Regions from separate parts of the Homo sapiens genome. Here all the other regions are linked to region 1. Evidence: promoter capture Hi-C in 16 types of primary human blood cells and fetal thymus (Javierre and others, 2016). All regions are on one chromosome and are shown on one strand. The core of a region is centred on a gene start or on the middle of the fragment in contact, and the rest is flanking DNA. Distances in the headings are between cores, read along the strand shown.

Region 1 (4,409 bases), core at 1,522-4,021:
TAAAATCAGTGTGGAACCAAAGAGAGAGCAGTAGCAAGATTTATTGCAAGGAGCGAAAAAACAAATCTCCCACACCATGGAACTGGACTTCAGCGGGTTGTCCCCGCTGGCTCCGGCAGCCTGCTTTTATTCTCTTATCTGGCCCCACCCATGTCCTGCTGATTGGTAGAGCCGAGTGGTCTGTTTTGACAGGGCGCTGATTGGTGCGTTTACAATCCCTGAGCTAGACACAAAGGTTTTCCATGTCCCCACCAGATTACTTAGATACAGAGCATCCACACAAAGGTTCTCTAAGGCCCCACCAGAGTAGCTAGATACAGAGTGTCCATTGGTGCACTCACAAACCCTGAGCTAGATACAGGGTGCTGATTGGTGTGTTTACAAACCTTGAGCTAGATACAGAGTGCTGATTGGTGTATTTACAATCCCCGAGCTAGACATAAAGGTTCTCCAAGGCCTCACCAGAGAAGCTAGATACAGAGTGCACATTGGTGCATTCCCAAACCCTGAGCTAGACACAGGGTGCTGATTGGTGTGTTTACAAACCTTGAGCTAGATACAGAGTGCTGATTGGTATATTTACAATCCCTGAGCTAGGCATAAAGGTTCTCCACTTCCCCCCGAGACTCAGGAGCCCAGCTGGCTTCACCCAGCATATCCCACACCGGGGCTGCAGGTGGAGCTGCCTGCCAGTCCCGCGCCGTGCACCCGCACTCCTCAGCCCTTGGGTGGTCGATGGGACTGGGCGCCATGGAGCAGGGGGTGGCGCTCGCTGGGGAGGCTTGGGCTGCACAGGAGCCCATGGAGGGGGTGGGAGGCTCAGGCATGGCGGGCTGCAGGTCCCGAGCCCTGCCCCGCGGGAAGGCAGCTAAGGCCCGGTGAGAAATCGAGTGCAGCGCCGGTGGGCTGGCACTGCTGGGGGACCCAGTACACCCTCTGCAGCCACTGGCCCGGGTGCTAAGCCCCTCATCACCCGGGGCCGGCAGGGGCGGCCGGCTGCTCCGAGTGAGGGTCCCGCCAATCCCACGCCAACCCGGAACTCCAGCTGGCCCGCAAGCACCCTGCGCAGTCCCGGTTACCCCTCGCGCCTCTTCCTCTACACCTCCCTGCAAGCTGAGGGAGCTGGCTCTGGCCTTGGCCAGCCCAGAAAGGGGCTCCCATAGTGCAGCGGTGGGCTGAAGGGCTCCTCAAGTGCCGCCAAAGTGGCAGCCCAGGCAGAGGAGGCGCCGAGAGTGAGGGAGGGCTGTGAGGACTGCCAGCACGCTGTCACCTCTCAAGATCTCATTACCTTGTCCAGGCTGGTCTTGAATTCCTGAGCTCAAGTGATCCTCCTGTCTTGGCCTCCCAAAGTGTTAGGATTACAGGCATGAGCTGCTGTGCCTGGCCAAAAGTAACTTGATAATTTGCACACAGGTGCCACATAATCCTGGTGGTACAGGTTGTACTGTCCAATACACTAGCCACATTTTACTTAAAGTGATGTGAAATTTAAAGTTCAGTTCCTCAGTCATGCTAGACAATTTACAAGTGCCCAATGGCCACATGTGGCTAGTGGCTACTGTATTGGGCAATGTTTAGGTATCGAAAATTTTCACCATCACAGAAGGTTCTATTGCACAGCACTGGACAGACCCTGCTTCTAAACTATTCTACGCAATTTGCTAGGTGAACGATCTTTAATGCAAATCTAAACATGGTCTTCTTTTGCTCAAAAGCCTTCAATGATTTTCTCTTCCATCAGCAGCAATCAGTTAATAGAGTTTTTTTCTTTTAAAAATGGTTGTAATGGAAAGTTAAATCAATTTTGAATCAATTTTGTGTGTTAAGACCAGCATTAAAAACAAGTAGCAAAAGAGAGAAGGGAAAGTACTTATGGATCATTAGTACAGTTTTGTGAAATTTTTGTTTTGGTCATATCTATATTTCTTTGCCTCTATAACTAGATTTCCACCTCTTCATAACTTGATGTCTGTATGATATTCCACTGGGTTGCAATGAAAAAAATCTTTCTAGTTGTGTGTGGTGAGCAAAAAATTTGGGCTTATGGGATAAGAAGTCTGAGCTCCGTAATGAAGCATTATAAGGCCCTCTATGATCTGATCCCTTGCTAATTCATTTCTAAGTCTCACCACTGTCTTGCACTTAGGTTCCATTAATACAGAATTGCTGCTGGTTTCACCTGAGACACGAAGCTTTATTTTTCTTTTCTTTTTTCCATCTCTGTTGCGTTTCCTCATTCTGAACTGTTTCCTTGGACTGCCAGTTCTACCTTCTTTTTGCCTGGAGAACTTATCATCATCTAAGGCCAACTTAGGAAACACCTACAGCAGGAATCCTGCCTAAATGCTCCAGGGCGGGCTGGCTGTCCTTCTTTGACCTTTCAGAGCATCCCACACACATCCGTTTACGGGGTTATAATAACGTAATTATTTATTTAGGTGTTCATTTCCGGCACTATACTAAGTTCTTTCAGTGCAGGTACTATCTTATTCATCTTTGTATCTGAAGCGAGAAGCGCGGTACCTGTAACAAACTAGGCATTCATTCAATAAATATTTGTTGAAAGAATAAACGCAAGAAGGAAGGAAAAATCAATCAACAACTGTGCGGACAATGTCAGTGCAACGCAGACTCCGGCCATCAGAGGGCGCCGGGGCGGCTGGGCTGGTGCGCAGGCGCGCTGAGAGGGCTGGCGCCGCGGCGGTAGCGGTGGCGGTCGCGGCTGTGGCCGGGGGAAGTGAATGGTTTTACCCAGAGGGCCCTGCGCCGCCTTTCTCCGCTGGCAACGGCGCCGCTCCCCGCTCCTCCTCCCCAGCCATGGCGTTCACGTTCGCGGCCTTCTGCTACATGCTGGCGCTGCTGCTCACTGCCGCGCTCATCTTCTTCGCCATTTGGCACGTGAGTAGCTGGGGCTGGGGAAAGGAGGGCGAGGCGGCAACACAGCCTCTTTTCGCCCCGGGCCCGCGGTCCGGGCCGCCACGGCCGCCGGGGCTTTGCGCGTCGGGGATGCGGCCCGGCTGGCACGGGCCGCGCGGCGAGGGGTCTGGGGGCCGCGGGTACTGGAGGAGCCGGGGCGCGCAGTCGCCAGGTGGACGCGCCCGCGTTGCCTCGGCACAGGCCGCGCGCACCGCTACTCCTCCCCTACTGGATGGGGCGGCCGCGGTCCAGGCGGGCGCCCGCGGTTCCGCGCTGCGTTCGCACCGACCTCTGCCGGCCCGCGGCCCTGCATTCCCGGGGAGGATGTCGACAGCGCGGTGGGACGGCCGTAGTGTGAATGAAGTTTTCCGAATTTTTGTTAATACAGATTGACTTTCTTTTAGGGTTTCCACAGAACTGTGGCCAAAATGTAACCTACTTAGGGTGAATTTCCAACTCTACTTTTCAGCACTTGTTCGGTGCTCTTCAAATCAAATCACTTTTTTTCTCTTTTTCCAGATTGTTGTTTCCTGGTGAACTTTGATGCAAGTTCAATTGATTACTTTGTTGATTGCATGTGCGCGTTTCCCCCCCAAATCATACTTTGACCGCTGGAGTTTCAACAGGCAGCTTTCCAAGCCACCCTTATATTCAGGATTGCTTGATTTAGTAGAGGGAGTTTTCATTTGATTTTGAGATGCTCAGAAACCTTAAGCTTTTCTGGGGCAGTATTTATTTCTGTTACACACATCATCATCACTATTGCAGGGTGGAAGCACAGCCTTACTGGTCCCTCTAAGGAAAAAGTCGTAAGTTCCCTGTGACATAGTTCTACAGAGATAAGAATTTCTGTTGCTTTAGCACAAAATTAAAAGCCTTGAGAGCCTTCTGGAAATCATTCATTAAAAATTTATCTCATACTTGCTTCTCTTTTCCCCATATTCCAGTGCCTTCTGGAATGTTGCTTTTAATTTGAATGACCGCGTTCACTCTTACGTAGATTTTAAGTCAGGTTTCATCATGCCAGTAACAAGGATTTCTATGAAACATACGGAGGGGCAGAATGATTAAACAGCAGCAGCGTCTTGTGCAAAAAAGTCTCGAAAGTGGAAGCATATCACAAATCCATTCCTTTTTGCTAAGCAGTGTGATTATGTTTACAATTATTTTAGGACCTGACTGCTTATTGTAATCAGGAATACTTATGTAGGCTATTAACTGTGTCGGAAATAACTGCTACCTCAGAATGCTTGTCAGTAGGAGCAGTAATTTGAAGAGCATCTTCAGCCCTGCTTTGATGGAAGAACAATACCTAAGATAATTTGGGATACAGACTAGCTCAACCTTAGTAGGCCTCTGATGAAAATGTGTGGTTCCATGGCCGGGCGCGGTGGCTCACTCCTGTAATCCCAGCACTTTGGGAGGCCGAGGCGGGAGGATCACGAGGTCAGGAGTTCGAGACCAGCCTGGCCAACATGGTGAAACCCCGTCTC
Region 2 (3,975 bases), core at 1,318-3,817, 1.1 Mb before region 1:
AAAATTATAGGCATACAATTAAAAACACATGTTCCATTCAAGTTAAGAAATTAACTTACACATAGGAAATGTATAAGACACATTCAACTTTTAAAAAAACAATTATGATTCAGTATTCTACGTGTCATCTTAACCATGACAGGCTGATTAAGAACTTTTAACCATAACTTAACATTCAAGTTAAGAACTTAAGAACAGTGACAATCTTAATATGGGTTCTTTAGAAGTCTCAAAAAGGTTTTCACGTCTTAGGCTCTTTTAAAAAGCCATATTGACTGATATTAAAAATATAATTATTAAAACGATCTCCCTACCAAAAGCAGATTAAAGCCTATAAACTAGAAGGGAGACTGAAGTGAGGCATTTTTAGGGACAAACACAACATCAAACAGAAGAGACTACTGGTATTAAAAGAATACAGAAAGATCTAAATTGGAAACAAAATCGTAAATGTCTCTTCATAATGCTGACGCTGAATCATTAAGAGTTAAATACTTGATATTCTTTATAATTTTCAAGTATTAAGAAAATTTTTCAATAGATCTTGTTATATTTTCAAATTCATTATCAGCCTCAAGTAAATCAAGTAGAACACCTTATTCTCTAAGCTCACTTGATAAGGTATTGTTATGTCTGATGAAGGCTACAAAATTAGAAGAGACATTTGAAACTCAATGTTGGGGTGGGAGGGAAACTCATGAACAGACCCAGCTATTTCAGGTTAGATCCTTAAACTAAAAAAAAAGGAAAAAGGAAAAAAAAAAAGAGCCTTTTTTATCAGGCAGCACATCAAATATGAAAGTCTACTGCAAGGCATGTCTACCCAAAATACTCAAGAGTAATTTAGTGTTATTCTTGGGATCATTATCCCAAGTCTCACCAGCTTGGGATCATTATCCCAAGTCTCACCAGCAATTGCTTCGGACCAAACTGGAGACACTGTTGCCATTAGCCTGCTAGGTAAGCTAAGGAAAACAAATGCAACCTAATTTAGCAAAAATTCTAACTTTAAGTCAACTCCTATACAATTCAGAACCTTTAGTTCACCGAAGATGCTTATCTTTAGCTGGGCTGGCCATGAGTGTCTACATTTCTCAAGGCTTTCCACAAAGTCATCACACACACACACACCTTAACAGTTAACTTCAACCGTAGCTCTTTACTCAAGGCTTTCCACAAAGTCATCACACACACACACTCACACACACACACACACCTTAACAGTTAACTTCAACCGTAGCTCTTTAAGCACTACTAACTTAAATAGCGGCTAAGGAATCCGTTTGCCAACACAGTTCTGAATTTAGATTCCTCCTTCCTCCCACAGGAAAGAAGGGCCAACACTGAACAGCTTACTTTCAACCTAACCTAGTCAAGGTGCAACTGGGGCCGGCTGGGACGCCGCTGCCCGCGTCCGGGGCTGCCCACATCTAGTGCACCCAGCGCCTTCACCGCCAGCATGCGGGGCTGCACATCCCACACCAGACGTATGGCTGAGAGCCAGACGACTTCTCTAGACTTCCCGCGTAGTTTTCCGGCGAGGTCCCCAAGGCCAAAAATCTCACTTTTGGAAACTGAAGGGGTCAGGCCGAATCGCTAGGACACACCCCTCGGGGACAGGAAGGGATAACTTCGCCGGTGTCGAGAGTGGTCCATGGATTTTTCCAAAGTCCCCCCTCATGCTGCTTTCCGTGCCCAACCGCCTCCCGCCCTGACCTGGGGACTCGCAAAGGGCAGCGGGAGGGGCGCCGGGGAAGGGGGCGAGCGCCCAGACCGCCGGAGGCAGCGGCGAGGACTGGAACTCCAGCATGGCGTAAGTGTGGCCCAGCTCCGGCCCGGGGACGCCGCCGGAGACGCGCTGCCTCCGTCCACCGGCCGAGGAGGCGGTAATCCGCCTTCCCTCCCGGGGGCCCTCAGGCTTGGCTAAAAATAGGTGCCTCGGTCACCCCAGGGCCCGCTCGGGTCGACCTCGCCTTCGGGAGAGTCGTCCTTGGGGAGGGTGGGGGGTGTCCCTCGGCCGCGCCCCGGGTGCCGCGACAGAGCCGGGGTCGGGCCCAGAGCGGCCCCGCGAGGCCGAGGAGGTCCCTCCGAGCCCGCCCCCTGCGGCGTCCCGGCCCCAACAAGAGCCCCGCGGCGGCAACCGGATGCCCGAGGCCTACCCAGCGGGCGGCGTCCGGGCCCCGCGGCCGCGCCCCCCCGCCCGGCGCGGCCCTCCCGCCTGCCCCAGGACCCCGCGGCCGGCGCCGCCTCCCCCCGCGCTCCCCGCCGCCGGCGCCCGTCCCGGTGCGGCCTGCTCTCCCTCACCCTGTGCGGCCGGGAAAGGAGACCGGGAAGACGCGGCGGCGCCGGCACTACAGCCCGGGCCGCCCGCTCCGAGGCGCCGCCGCCGCCGCCGCCGCCGCCGCAGTCGCTCAGGTGCCGTCGCGCCGCTCGGCAGGAAACGGGCGGCTTCGGGGCGGGGCGGGGCGGACCCGGCACGTCCTGGCGTCTGGGCCGGCGGCGCCGGGAGACCGGCCCCTTAAAGGGACAGCCGCCGGCCCGCCTCTGCCTCCGCGCGCCTGCCCACGCGCTCCGGTACTCGCTGCTCGCGGCTGGCCGGCTCGGGATTCCGGGCTTTCTTCCCGAGACCGCGTCCCCCAGCTGGGCCGAAGGTGGACGCTCAGGGGCTGGAGGCTCAGCGGAATCCCCTGCGTTCAGTAGCCCCGCTCTCCCCTGTCCCGAAGGTTGGTCTCGTCTCGCGCGGCCCTCCCTCCAGGGCACCACCTGGCTCCCCACGCCTTTTAACTTCAGCAAACGGCACTAGATTTACCCCCTGACTATCCCAGATTTCCCCCAGAAATTACTGGAAAACGACATCCCCCGTCCCTTTCTCCAGGGGATCTCTCTGAAATCTCCTTCGGGCAACGCTAGCTACAAACGGAGAAAGAAATTAGAAAGCGACCCAAATAATGGTCGGGCGCGGTGGTTCACGCCTGTAACCCCAGTACTTTGGGAGGCCAAGGCAGGCGGATCACCTGAGGTCAGGAGTTCGAGACCAGCCTGGCCAACATATAGTAAAACCCGTCTCTGCCAAAAAAAGTACAAAAAATTAGCTGGGCATAGTGGCGCACGCCTGTAGCCCCAGCTACTTGGGAAGCTGAGACAGGAGAATCGCAGGAATCTAGGAGGCGGAGGTTGCAGTGAGCCGAGATCTCGCCACTGCACTCCAGCCTGGGCGAGAGAGTAAGACTCTCCGTTTCTCTCAAAAAAAAAAAAAAAAAAAGGAAAGAAAAGAAAGCGACCCAAATGAGTTGTGTGCAAACATTATGAAAGTGTTGTGACTGCCAGCTGGTAGCCATTTATGAAGCCGGGGTAAAAATCTAGAAACTGCTGCGCGAGGAGGGATGGGCCCGGATCTCTCCTTATTCGTTTGCTCTTTGCTGAAAGGATGGCAGCGATCCTCCCCGTCCACTGGCAAGTGAGTTTCGTGTGGATTGTTTACCGATGATCAATCTCTCACAGGAGGCCAGGCACTGCCCCACTACATGTACAAAACACTCCAAGCTGTCCGCAAATGTTATGAAGGCTTAAAATAATCCTAACGATTCCAGACTGTGGATAGAGATAGAAAAAATTAGGACTCACCACCACCACCTCGCCCTACATCTGACAAAGTGGGAACAGAAGCAGTTAAGGAATGAACAGCAGAACCGTTTCTACACCAACAGAATTTCCTGTACATGGGCTGGTTAAAAGTATCCATACTTTTTATTCTAATCATTTCTAAGTTTTCTAGAGCACCTCCAAAATACAAATGAAAACTGCGCAGTGTATAGTGGCCTGAGATATTGAGAATTCTGCCAGTCTTCAGTCACCGTGTTCTCCACAGATGCATTGTCTTATTTTAACTCCAGAGGCGTCCTCTTTTTTCTTTCTCATTAGGATTACTCTGCCCCTCAGCGGTTCCAGTGCCCTCAAAGCAATCTGTCTCTGAAG
Region 3 (4,354 bases), core at 1,124-3,623, 1.7 Mb after region 1:
CACCTTAGTTAGGTGTACACATCATAATTCTTAATAGACCTAGACTTCCATGCTAGGTAAAACCATTTATATTAAGAGGTTTTGCTCCAGGTAGATTTAAGATCTCTTAAATCTAAAAAATTTCAAATAATGTTTTTTAAATAAACCACACACTTGATTGGGGTGATGGTTACACAGATATATAACTTGTCCAAACATATTTGAAATGTACACTTAAGAATCTACATTTTTTTAATGTAATTATACCTCAATGAAAAATTATACCACAAAAAAATCAGTTAAGTCAAATGAACATATAAACAAAAAACACAACTCAAAAGATCTATACTAGTTTGCATTTGAAAATACAACACAAAATAATTCTAAAATGGGGGATGGATTTGACAACATACCAAGAGAAAAGGTATATACAATTTTTATCTGTTGGCATTTTGCCACGGCAGCTTTTAAAGAACAGTATGTTCTGCTCTCAAGACTGATTCAAGGAAGAAAAGTAGAGACTAGAGAAATTGAAGATCTGAAAGTCCAATTTAAATTACTTATAGTACCAGTAACTTAAGAGAGAAATTTCTTTTTTTTTGAGACAGAGTCTGTTGCCCAGGCTGGAGTGCAATGGCATGATCTTGGCTCATTGCAACCTCTGCCTCCCGGGTACAAGAGATTCTCCTGTCTCAGCCTCCTGAGTAGCTGGGACTACAGGCGCCACCACCACACCTGGCTAATTTTTGTACTTTTAGAAGAGATGGGGTTTCACTGTATTGGCAGGCTGGTCTTGAACTCCTGACCTCAGATGATCCACCCACCTCAGCCTCCCAGAGTGCTGGGATTACAGGCGTGAGCCACCATGCCTGACCGAGAGAGAAATTTCTATTGAATAGTTGTGTTGGGCTAGGTGCGGTGGCTCACGCCTGTAAATCCCAACACTTTGGGAGGCCAAGGCTGGAGGATGGCTTGAGTTCAGGAGTTCGAGAAGAGCCTGGACAACATGGTGAAACCCCATCTCTACAAAAAATAAAAAAATTAGTCACATGTGGTGGCGCATGCCTTCAGCTACTTGGGAGGGTGAGGTGAGAGGATGACTTCAGCCTGGGAGGTAGAGGTTGCAGTGAGCTGAGACTGCACCACTGCATTCCAGCCTGGGCAAAAGAACCAGACCCTGTCTCAAAAGAAAAAAAAAAGTTGTGTCCATATGTGCATAAAGCGTGACTGGGAAAAGCCAGAAGTGAGAGAAATCAATACTCTAAAGTGTAAAGTATCTGCAGACAGTAAAGGATACTGCATGTATACATGGGATTCTTTCTGCTCCTATGGCTAATGCAGCAAATCACTGTTGAAAGCAAGTTTTCACCGTTTTATGAAGCACCTGTTCTTCCTCTGTTGCCCTTTCATTAATACAGGTGAGAACTGCCTTTTTTTTTTACACTTAGACCAGTGCTTCCTCAAGTATTGTCAAAGAAAAATTTGGTTTCATAATCACTTGGAATGCTTGTTTAAATGCTAATTCCTGTGCCTACCCCCAATCTAGTCCATCAAAACCACTCAGAGGGCCTAGTAATGTGTATTTTTAATAAGTGTTCCAAAAAAAATTAATGTACTGAAGTATGAGAACTGGCTTAAAGCTTAAATCAGATTGTGTAAGACATTCCAATTATTCCCATTAATTCCTAAATATTCACAGCCTAATTTAGGATAAAATCCATAGGACAATGTAATTTGCTTTACAGATAACAGTTAAGAAGCTGTCTGTGCTATGAAGTAAGGCAATCCTGATTTGACTGTTCACCTAAAAGCTTACAAGATTTAAGACAATCCTAAAGCCAGTGGTTTTCTGGAATGGCAGCAAACAGCTTTAACAAAATAAAATATTTAAGGAACAGGTACCCTACTCTTCTGTAAGAGTGGGAAGCTAGTATTAATGAGGTTATGGAAAAAACTCATCACACACATTATCCAAATATGCTCTGACCCAAGTAACTTATTATGATAATCAAAACCACAGGATATCAGATTACATCAATTATTTTTAGCTTTTTCTCCGTTCCTTTGCCACAAAAAGAGCAGGATTTTTCTAACACCAAATTATCTCCAAATAAAAAAAAACAGTAATTTTCACAGCTAGAAATTCAGTGCTATTCTTCTTAGCAAGAATAGTAAATACATAATATTCTTAACTACCATTTAGACAAAAAGTACTTTTTCATCCTGTTTCTCCTGTTAAGAATCCTAAAACTAGTAGTATTTATTAGCTAAGTTCAGAGAACAAGGCACACAGTACCAACCTCTCTTAATTCCCGGATCTGTTCTGATAGCCCTCCAATCTCAGAATAAGAAACATTCCCAGGGTCCTCATGAGACATGTTATAAACCAGTGGATCCACCTCTCTCGGCAAATATCTAGAATGAAAAGGTATGTATTTTTCTTTTGAAAGATATATTTTCTCTTAGCCTACAGATAGCATATAAATAACTTGCTCAAGCAAGCACCTGTAGCTGATCTCATAAAGATGTGCTTAATTAGAAACTAGTAAAAGGGAAAAAGTGCCAAAATATTCAGTGATCTCAAGAAGCATATATCTCAGATAAAAACCACCCTTTGTGAAAATAAAAGGTGAACTAAATAGAATAAGAAACCCACCTCATGATAGTTAGTGTAGTCATATCCAAAGCAACTCTTGTTCCTGGCTTCAGCTTACTTTTGTCAAGCTAGTTTTGTAAAACAAAAGATATTACATCAACACTTAAAAACGGAATAACACTCTAACGAGAGTTTAATATTTAGAAGCCAAACACTCATTTTTACCCTCCAGAGAGAACACAAATATCAGATTATAAACTCTATGCTAACAAAATGGCTTATAAAATAAGTAATTCAAAGTGATTTCCACCTGCTCCTTAAAAGCATGCCCCTTTGTGTAATCTCAGTGTAAAATGTGAAATGACTAACACACAAAGCTTGAGGCAGCAATGGTACAGTGACTTTGGGAATTGCTACCAAAGCATTTATAGAAAAATCCCTTAGTGAACATTTTAGGGAAAGGAAAGGGAAGCATTTTAAAGGTGTGCTCATCAGATTTATTTTGAAATGTACAGCTTCTGGGAAGAATGTGTTAAATGCTCATGAGAGTAGAGAAAAATGCACGGTTTCCCCTTAGAGATTTTTATTAAAATGCTTTAAATTTAAAGCCCCAAAACCCAGCAACCATCACTCATGCCTTTGCTACATGACAGGCACATGCTGAACACATTACACATTAGGTTGAATCATACTAAATAATTTCTTGGCTTATCTGGCTAAAATTAGAATCTACTAGATCTGCCTCACTCTCAGGATGTTGTTACTTTTCAAAGATAAAGTTACTTTTTTTTTTGAGATGGAGTACGGAGTCTCACTCTGTCGCCCAGGCTGGAGTGCAGTGGCGCCATCTTGGCTCACAGCAACCTCTGCCTCCCTGGTTTAGGCAATTCTCCTGCCTCAGCCTCAAGTAGCTGGGATTACAGGTGTGTGCCACCATGCCCGGCTAATTTTTTTTTGTATTTTTTAGTAAAGACGGGGTTTCACCATGTTGGTCAGGCTGGTCTTGATCTCCTGACCTCGTGATCTGCCCACCTCAGCCTCCCAAAGTGCTGGGATTACAGGCATGAGCCACCCCGCCCGACCCAAGTTACTTTTTAATAGTTTAAAAAACTGCGTGCCAATACAATTTCGGAATCATATAAATTACTGACCACTTGTCACAGGATTTTACAAAGAGCTTCAAATTTAGGAAGATAGGCAAAACACTAGGATTAATATAACAATTAAGGAAAAAACGGCTAAGAAGTGAGGTTACTTGAAAAAATAAGAGGAGAAATCAATATGAAGCTATTTCAATGTTTACATCTATAGGAAATACAGGCTGAGTATTCTTAATCTGAAAATCCAAAATGCTCCACAATGTGAAATTTTTTGAATGCTGACATGATGCTCAAAGAAAATGCTCATCGGAGCATTTCAAACTTTTGATTTTTTTTAATTAGGGATGCTCAACCAGTACAACACAAATATTCTAAAACCTGAAAAAAAAAAAGCCAAAATCTAAAACACATTTCTGGCTCAAGCATTTTGGATAAGGGATACTCAACTTATATATACTTCGGCTTTTCTAATGTTTTTTAGTCTTCAAATACAGTCTTGTCCTCATGCAACCTGAAATATCTTAGAAATGCCAACTTTCGGCATCCACAGAGCCCTGAAAGGGACATGAAAATCCCTTGTCAGTTTAGGTATCTAATATTTTGACTTAGAAAATGTCAACCGCTTATATACTAGGCAAAATCCTAATAGGAGATTTATAGTTCCTGGATTAAATTCTCC

Evidence for each region. Contacts are between HindIII fragments. The CHiCAGO score rates a contact against its expected background, and 5 or more counts as called.
Region 2: a contact is called between the fragment with the promoter of KTN1-AS1 here and the fragment with the promoter of CNIH1 in region 1, in 1 of 17 cell types (total CD8 T cells). The highest score is 6.2, in total CD8 T cells.
Region 3: a fragment that was not itself captured here is called in contact with the fragment with the promoter of CNIH1 in region 1 in 1 of 17 cell types (M2 macrophages); the score reaches 5.5 in M2 macrophages.

The regions. Positions count from the first base shown.
Region 1 is chr14:54,439,736-54,444,144 of GRCh38, reverse strand. It overlaps CNIH1 (cornichon family member 1), which reads left to right and starts at 2,771. Exons shown (of 5, transcript NM_005776.3): 1 at 2,771-2,898. The coding sequence starts at 2,818. RefSeq lists enhancers at 2,428-2,487, 2,364-3,162 and silencers at 2,568-2,837, 2,878-3,237, 3,248-3,297. The HindIII fragment of the contact is 1,439 bases long and covers 2,195-3,633 here.
Region 2 is chr14:55,578,684-55,582,658 of GRCh38, reverse strand. KTN1-AS1 (KTN1 antisense RNA 1) reads left to right here and starts at 2,567. Exons shown (of 3, transcript NR_027123.1): 1 at 2,567-2,723; 2 at 3,922-3,975. It overlaps KTN1 (kinectin 1), which reads right to left and starts at 2,452. Exons shown (of 44, transcript NM_001079521.2): 1 at 2,305-2,452. RefSeq lists silencers at 1,134-1,428, 1,608-2,247, 2,308-2,567 and enhancers at 3,008-3,097, 3,108-3,227. The HindIII fragment of the contact is 5,026 bases long and covers 1-3,975 here.
Region 3 is chr14:52,709,450-52,713,803 of GRCh38, reverse strand. PSMC6 (proteasome 26S subunit, ATPase 6) reads right to left here. Exons shown (of 14, transcript NM_002806.5): 5 at 2,636-2,703; 6 at 2,280-2,394. Among named protein-coding and RNA genes, the nearest start is that of PSMC6, 4.4 kb to the right of the region's middle. The HindIII fragment of the contact is 1,162 bases long and covers 1,793-2,954 here.